Regions from separate parts of the Homo sapiens genome. Here regions 2 and 3 are each linked to region 1. Evidence: promoter capture Hi-C in 16 types of primary human blood cells and fetal thymus (Javierre and others, 2016). All regions are on one chromosome and are shown on one strand. Each heading gives the region's core, a stretch centred on a gene start or on the middle of the fragment in contact. The rest is flanking DNA. Distances are from core to core; before and after follow the strand shown. Region 1 holds the start of LARP7 (La ribonucleoprotein 7, transcriptional regulator). Region 2 has its middle 11 kb from the start of SEC24B. Region 3 has its middle 3.5 kb from the start of OSTC.

Region 1 (2,700 bases), core at 27-2,526:
ACGAAAGACATAGATAACTTGGAAGAGTGAGTCAGACAAGACACCAAGTCATTTGTGTGTGTTTGCTATTTAAAAGTATTTCGTAATTTCTCCTGAGGAAATTATATGAAAAATGTTTGTTTGGAGACGCAGCCTCTCTCAGTGGCCCAGGCTGCAGTGCAGTGGCGCGATCCCGGCTCACTGTAATCTCTGCTTCCCGAGTTCAAGCGATTCTCCCAACCAAGCCTCTTGAGTAGCTGGGACTACAGGTGTGCACCACCACTCCCCGCTAATTTTTGTGTTTTTAGTAGAGACGAGATTTTGCCATATTGGCCAGGCTGGTCTCGAACTCCTGACCTCAAGTGATCCTCCCGCGTCGGCCTCCCAAAGTGCTGGGATTACAGGCGTGAGCCACCGTGCCCAGCCTCGCAAAATGTTTTAATAGGTACATGCACGTTTTCCTGAGAAGCTAATCCATATAATTAAGTTTTCAAAAGAAGTGTGCCACAACAGGTTAAGAATCATTGTTCTGGTCACTGCTTACAACTCAAGTCCCTCAACACGTAGTGGCCTGTGTGTTCTGCTTTGTCTGAATCTTCTCGTCTAAATTTCCTTATTAAATTTTCAAGGCCCAGGTTAAATGGCATCTTACTCTTTGAGATCTTCCACCACCCTGTGTCCTATCATTTGTTTTCTCTTAAGTTTCTTTGCAAACGCACTCTGCACACCATATCTAGCAAGTGTTAGTTCCCTTCCGTAACTGGATTTTTTACTCTTTGAGGACGATGGCAGAGTCCTGCAAAAGAAGATGATAATTTTAGAATATAAATCCTCACGTTCGCTATCTTCTGGCAGCCACAGCTCAGCTCCAATCTGCGAAATACGGCACTCTCTTTATTGACTACTGCTTCTCTCGGCACCCGTACTTCCGCAAGGACGCCGTCATAGGCCGGGCGCGCCCCAAACCTCCCCACGCCGGGCCCCTATGCGCCCTTACTGTCTGAAAACGGGAACTACAAGTGCTGCCGAAGACTTTTGCGCGTGCGCATAGATAACTAGGCCAAGGAACTGATGGGTGTGCAGGACGGGGGGGCGGGGTAAGAAGGACGATAGATGATAGAGTGGACCGCAAGAAAAAGGACGGAGAGTTAATTAGACTTCGCCCAAGCTGTGCGACCCTATAGGCCGCTTGTAACTTACTCCGTTCGACTCCCAAAATACAGGGTCAAGTACTGCGGCCTTCGGACATTTCCGTCTCCGGATCCTGATAGTCTCGGTTACTTTCGCGTCATAGGATGAGCGACAACGTTTTCCGGTCCCAATTGAGAAAGACGGGCCCGGAGGCAGTGCGCGCTCCACCTACGTCACAGGCGAGGTGGTTCCAGGAGGGCTGGGCATCGGAGAGCGCGGCCGGCTGAGAGACTCGAAGCCAAGGAAGAATTTGATTGGCGATTTGAAAGCGGCGGTTTTTGGCTTAGGCGGAGGTGGGCGGGCCAAGTTTTGGGTCCTCATCTGGTGAGGTCCCGCGTTAATGACGTCACGTTGTTTCGCGGGAGAAATTCGAAAGTGGATTTTGTGCAATTTGACAGGTGAGGTGAAGTGTTTCTCGGGATTTCCTAGGAATGACTTGAGCGATTTGGGGCGAAGGGACGAAAGACTCTGCTCCTTAAGAAGAGAACCGGGAAGGATGCTGTTTGGAACCAGGATTGGGGTGGTCGCAGTCACAGCTACTCGGACTGCTTGTAGTAAGTGGTGCCTCTTCACCGTTTTTCCCAGGCCTTGCTTTGCAATTTCGAGTAGGTATGAGGACCAAAGAGGGCTTTGCTGTTTGTATTTAGGACTGAGAAAGGATCAAGTCTCCATTGTCATTTGGTGACAGGATTATGGTTCTTAGAATCTTGGCAAATGAGATGTGGGTTTCCTTTGTTTATTTGGACTGGATGGTTTGTTAACAATGTTGAGTTCATGATTCCAAAACTTTGTTATCCGAACTATTTAGAGGTTCAGGTTTAGGTTCAAAAAATACTCCTTGTTTAAAAAAAAAGGAAAAATATCTAGTATTTAAATGAATAATGGCTCATACTTTACTGAGAACACCGAGTTTTATGTATATATATTGCGTCCGTACATATAGTAGCACAATGTATATGTATGTATATGTGTGTATGTACGTATATCTGTGTGTATGTATGTATGTATATAATTATCACAGAGCATCTGGGGTCTTTAAAAACTTATTTGGAGATTAATCTTTCACCTATTAGAAGTCGGTCAACAGGTGAATTGTCTGGTAGACGTGGACAGATGAACACTTGGAAAAAACTCTTTGCATCTCACTTAAATATATATGATGCTGTTGTCTAAAATAATTTTTTCTGATTAATACTAAGATAAGAAAGGGTGTTGACTTTCAATGAATAAGTATTAGAGCTCTTCTAAATTTTAAAAGATCCAGTTAGCTTTTTTTTTTTAGGTTTTCTCCTATAATCGAATTTAACCATCCTTTAAGAGTTTCAGTCTTCTTAGTTCTTTTTAAACTGTACATTCCAGAAGTAATATCTCAATTTAGGAAAATAATGGAGAATTTATCTTGCAATTGTGAAATAGCATATAAGTTATCCTAAACTAGTAAATACTGGGTTCCTAATCTGTAAATTGTAATAATGCTTATTCTTCAGGATTATGAGACTGATAAATACTGTATGTAAAGTATCTCGTCCA
Region 2 (2,700 bases), core at 16-2,515, 3.2 Mb after region 1:
ACTTTCACTAATTTTGTTACTGCTATCTTTTAAGAACTTAAAAGGAGGTGCCAGGTGTACAGGCAGAACATGAAAGTGGACAAGGAGCATGACCACTGAAGCACAGCACCACAGATGTTTAAGCCTCCAGATGACTGCGGGCAGGCCTGGCTAATGTCAGGACTCCCACAAGAGTTGGTGGAGCAGTGTTCTCTAACTCCCCCCGGGGAAAGGGAGACTCGCTTTCCCGGTCTGCTAAGTAACGGGTGCCTTCCCAGGCACTGGCGCTACCGCTAGACCAAGGTCTGCCGAGTAACGGGTGCCTTCCCAGGCACTGGCCCTACCGCTAGACCAAGGTCTGCCAAGTAATGGGTGCTTTCCCAGGCACTGACCTTACCGCTAGACCAAGGAACCCTCAAGCGGCCCTTATCCGGGCGTGACAGAGGGCTCACACTCTTGTCCTTTGGTTACTTCTCACCATGTCCCTTCAGCTCCTGACTCTGTATGGCCTGGTGTTTTCTAGGTTATGATTATAAAACAGAGATTATTATAATACTAAAAGAGCAACACTACCAACTAAAGATTGATAATATTCATATATAATCATGTCTATATCTTATTTTTAGTATAACTTTTTGTATTCTAATTATTTTCTTTTATTATACTGGAACAGCTTGTGCCTTCAGTCTCTTGCCTCAGCACCTGGGTGGCTTTCCGCCCACAAGTAGAGATGGGGTTTCTGCATGTTGGTCAGGCTGGTCTCGAACTCCCGACCTCAGGTGATCCACCTGCCTCGGCCTCCCAAAGTGCTGAGATTATAGGCATGAGCCACCGTGCCCAGCCTGCTTACTTTCAAAATAAGGTAAAAGTCTGAGGAAAAAATAATAGTTCCCATTTCTGGAGCATTTAGGCTGTGCCAGGCATTGTTCTATGTATGTTCATGTATTATTTCCTCAAAAAAGTACACACTTTAATTCTGCAGATGAGAAATCTGAAACTCAAAGAGATTGAGAATCTTCTCCACACACATGATTATCCCAATAATCTGGTGAGTTGAATGAGAAATAGAAGTCAAAGAGGAAGAAGGCAGGGTTGCCTGAAAGATTCCAGAATCTGGATATAAAGGTGCATTCTCCAGCAGCTGCTGATGGCCACTAACAGGATTTTCTCTTATATATCTTAGTTGGGCATGAAGGGTATGAGAGATTTCAAGCATACTGAGGAATGACACTTTCAATTGCTTCCCCAGCCAAGTAGCTTCAATGGACAGATTACCCAGAATTTAAAACAAGAAAAAATATAATCTAATTAGATCACTTATATTACTTTGTCATTGCCATATCTTTCTAACAATTTAAAAAAAAATGGACTTTTAAAAAAAGCCCCGTATCTGAGGCTCTAAAATCCAACAGTCCTCTTCGTTTTAATGCTTAATTTTGTTTTTGTTTTTGTTTTGAGATGGAGTCTCGCTCTGTCACCAGGCTGGAGTGCAATGGCGCAATCTCAGCTCACTGCAACCTCCGCCTCCCCGGTTCAAGCAATTCTCCTGCCTCAGCCTCCCGAAATGATTAGTTTTACAAACAGACCAGAAGCGGGGCGCAGTGGCTCACGCCTGTAATCCCAGCACTTTAGGAGGCCGAGGTGGGCGGATCACAAGGTCAGGAGTCTGAGACCAACCTGGCCAATATGATGAAACCCCGTCTCTACTAAAAATACAAAAATTAGCCCGTAGTGGTGGCCTGCGCCTGTAGTCCCAGGGCTTGGGAGGCTGAGGCAGGAGAATCGCTTGAACCCGGGAAGCGGAAGTTGCAGTGAGCCAGGATCGCGCTGCTGCACTCCAGCCTGGGCGACAGAGCGAAACTCCGTCTTAAACAAACGAACAAACAAAAAACAAAAACAAACAAACAAAAACCCAAAACAAAAAAACCAGACCAGAAAGCCCCAACCCGCTTTTCCATCTGGACGCTCTTCCTACGTAGTCTACAATGTCGGTGGGCTTCCACCGCCATCTGGTGGACGATGTGTAGATGTGCTCTGACTTGAGGAGACTTCGCTGGCGTGGAGAGGAATGTGATTAATGAGAAGAGTTTTCCATTCATGCAATTGATTTGAAAGCAATGCATAGGAATCTAAAAACTGAATAGATAAAAGTGCTTACTTCTAGGCAATCAAAAAGGGGAACAATTTGTATGTGTTGACTTATTGACTAGGATGAGATGGAACCAAATAAATTAACATTTTCTTTAATGCTGCTAGAATCCTTCAACTTCGCACTACATAGCATGCAACACTTTTTGAACAGTCCCAGCACCATGAATCTGCTTAAGTAAAGCTGTTTATGCAGTCGTCTCATCTGAGAGTACAGGAAACTCTGTATCTACATCCATTTCTGTTTATCTTTATAGTCCCCTTGTCCCACACCTAAAATTTCAACATTAAGAATCTACTTTCTCACTGGGGCCTGTCAGGGGGAGTGGGGGAAGGGAGAGCACCAGGAAAAATAGTTAATGCATGCTGGACTTAGTACCTAGATGATGGGTTGATAGATGCAGCAAACCACCATGGCACATGTTTACCTATGTAAAAAACCTGCACATCCCATACATGTACCCTGGAACTTAAAATCATAAAATAAAATAAAAAGAATCTACTTTCTGAGCTGGGCGCGGTGGCTCACATCTGTAATCCCACCACTTTAGGAGGCTAAGCTGGGAGGATCAC
Region 3 (2,700 bases), core at 16-2,515, 4.0 Mb after region 1:
GTTATCATCCATGTCCTAACCCACAATTCCTACAGAAAAATGTTCTATTTAAACATAACATAAACTCTGTAACTGAAAACCAAAGAAATAATGAATATAGCAGTGGGCATTAGAGCATGCCCTTAAATAAACATATAATCAATCATTCAGTGGTTTTCTATTTATAGATGAAGAAGGAAAAATGTTGAGAGAAACACAGTTTACAATATAATATGCAGTAGAGCTGTCATCTTAAGCTACATATAAAAGCAAATGTTAATAATTCTTACTGTGCACAAGCAAATATATATTCAAAGAAGAAAAAAGTGTAAAGATGGTATCTACCAAGCTTTCTGTGTTCATTGTAGAATATTTTAATAAAAAGCCTTGAAGTCAGAAATGGTTCTGCCAGCCAAAAGAGAGGGAGAGCTCCACAAATAAGTTTTTAACTAAATTCTAAACAAACTAGAATTACAAAGGCTACAAATATTGTTGATTTCTGTTTATTTAAATATGTGTTGGAGAGGAAATTAGTAGCTTTGTTTTTTGTAGGATAATAATACTAATATTAACCTGGATTTTTATTTATGAAGACATTTTGCAGTTTGGTTGACAGTGTCTTGAATTATGTTCTTTCGCGCTAGGTTCTGTATAAGCATGAGTACGAAGCACTATTATGTCTCATGATCTAAATAAAAACTCTTTCTAATGCAATATTGTGGGGTTTGGTGTTATTGTTGTAGTTATTTTACATTTTGAAGGTTGTTTTTAAAATTATATGCAAGTAATGGCTGGGCACGGTGGCTCATGCCTGTAATCCCAGCACTTTGGGAGGCCTCCTCACCTGAGGTCAGCAGTTCGAACCCAGCCTGACTAACATGATGAAACCCCATCTTTACTAAAAAATACAAAATTAGCTGGGCATGGTGGTGTATGCCTCTAATCCCAGCTACTTGCAAGGCTGAGGCAGGAGAATGGCTTGAACCCGAGTGGCGGACGTTGCAGTGAGCCGAGATCGTGCCATTGCACTCCAGCCTGGGCAACAAGAGAGAAACTCCATCTCTAAAAATAAATGAATAAACAAATAAATAATGAAAATAAGAAATAAAATTATGCAAGTAAAACATAGGAACCTGCCCAATGTAAAATAATTAATTTATTCAAATATTAGAGACACATATGGAACGAGTTTCCCATTATCACTATTCTAATTTTAGTTCTCCTTCCAGAGGTAGTGAGATCACTGAGTTCTAGAATGTACAATTGGGATAAATGTACTCAGCAAATGGAAAAATCACCATATTGGTTTCCTGACCCATATTATGAGGGCTTTTATGGCAGGAAAGTCTAAGTGTAACCAGTAGAACTGCTTTTACCTACAGAAATAATAAATCTAAAGTGACTTCAGTGGCTGATGTGCTATCAAAGACTTGAAAGATGCTGAGTAGTGATTTCTGCCACATTTCGCTCAATTAACTTGGCCCTTGCAAAAGAAAGATGGACCTTGGAGAACAACAGTGGATTATTGTAAATTTAATCATGTGGTGACTCCAACTGCTGCTGCTATTCCACTTGTGGTTTTGTCGCTGGAGCACATCAACACATCTCGTGGCACCTGTTAGCTGTTCTGGCAAATGCTGTTTCTACTTATGCCTATGGTAAAGATCATCAGAAGAAGTTTGCTTTCAACTGGCAGAGTCAGCAACACACCTCCATTTCAGAATTATATCAATTCCCCAGCTCTATGTCATAATCTGATTTGCAGGAACTTTGATTGCCTTCTCATTCACAGAATATCACACTATGACATTGCATTGATAATATGCTCATTAGACAGTGATCTAAGTAGCAACTACAGTAGATATATTGTTAGGACAAATGCATGCCAGAGGATGGAAAAATAAGCACAATAAAATGTCAGGGTCTCCTCAGGGAAATGTCTAGGGGTTAAGTGATCTGTAATACATAGAAAGCTCTTTCAAAATAAAGGATATTTGCTGCACAATGCTCAATGGATGGACCACTTGCAACATATACTTCATTTGGTCATACCATTTTGATGTATTTGCTGAGCAATCCAATAAGCTGCTAGTTTTGATTGGGATCCTGAATAAGCAAAGGTTCTTCAATAGCAAACTGCTCTGCCACTTGGGCCATACAACTTAGTAGATCCAGTATTACTTGTAACGTCTGTGGTAGATAGGCATGCTTTATGAAGCTTTTGACAAGCCACTGTAGCACAGAGCCTTAGAGCTTTGGCGCAAACCTATGTCATCCTCTGTCAAGAAATAATCTCCAGGCTTGCCACTGAGATTATTTCACAGGCAGTCATTGACAAATGACTCTAGGCTTGCCACTGAACCTTAGTAGAGATGAAACTATTGACCGTGGGCAACAAGCTACCATGAAACTTGAACTACCCATCATTTGACAATTTGGCATTGTCTAATCTATCATCCAATAAACGTGGGTGTCTACAGCAGCATTCTATCATCAAATGAAAGCGTTGTGCATAAGATCAAGCTCAAGTAGATCTTGAAGGTACAAGTAAGTTGTACAAAAAATAGTTTCAAATGCATATGGCCCACATTCCTGCCACATTGTCTCTTTTCTCTCAACCTATATCTATGGCATTATACCTTCAGGCAACCTATGACCAGTTGACTGAAGAAGAAAGCCTGATTTACAGATAGTTCCACACAATGTGCTGGCACTCTCTGA

The links. The method cuts DNA at HindIII sites, captures the fragments that hold promoters and counts their contacts. A CHiCAGO score of 5 or more calls a contact.
Region 2: a fragment that was not itself captured here is called in contact with the fragment with the promoter of LARP7 in region 1 in 1 of 17 cell types (neutrophils); the score reaches 6.3 in neutrophils.
Region 3: a fragment that was not itself captured here is called in contact with the fragment with the promoter of LARP7 in region 1 in 1 of 17 cell types (neutrophils); the score reaches 5.5 in neutrophils.

Annotation. Positions count from the first base shown.
Region 1 is chr4:112,635,719-112,638,418 of GRCh38, reverse strand. LARP7 (La ribonucleoprotein 7, transcriptional regulator) reads right to left here and starts at 1,276. Exons shown (of 13, transcript NM_016648.4): 1 at 1,180-1,276. ZGRF1 (zinc finger GRF-type containing 1) reads left to right here and starts at 1,510. Exons shown (of 28, transcript NM_018392.5): 1 at 1,510-1,568. RefSeq lists enhancers at 724-833, 874-923, 1,494-1,713. The HindIII fragment of the contact is 18,676 bases long and covers 1-2,700 here.
Region 2 is chr4:109,421,872-109,424,571 of GRCh38, reverse strand. No RefSeq gene overlaps it. Among named protein-coding and RNA genes, the nearest start is that of SEC24B, 11 kb to the left of the region's middle. The HindIII fragment of the contact is 4,993 bases long and covers 1-2,700 here.
Region 3 is chr4:108,645,772-108,648,471 of GRCh38, reverse strand. No RefSeq gene overlaps it. Among named protein-coding and RNA genes, the nearest start is that of OSTC, 3.5 kb to the left of the region's middle. The HindIII fragment of the contact is 1,869 bases long and covers 331-2,199 here.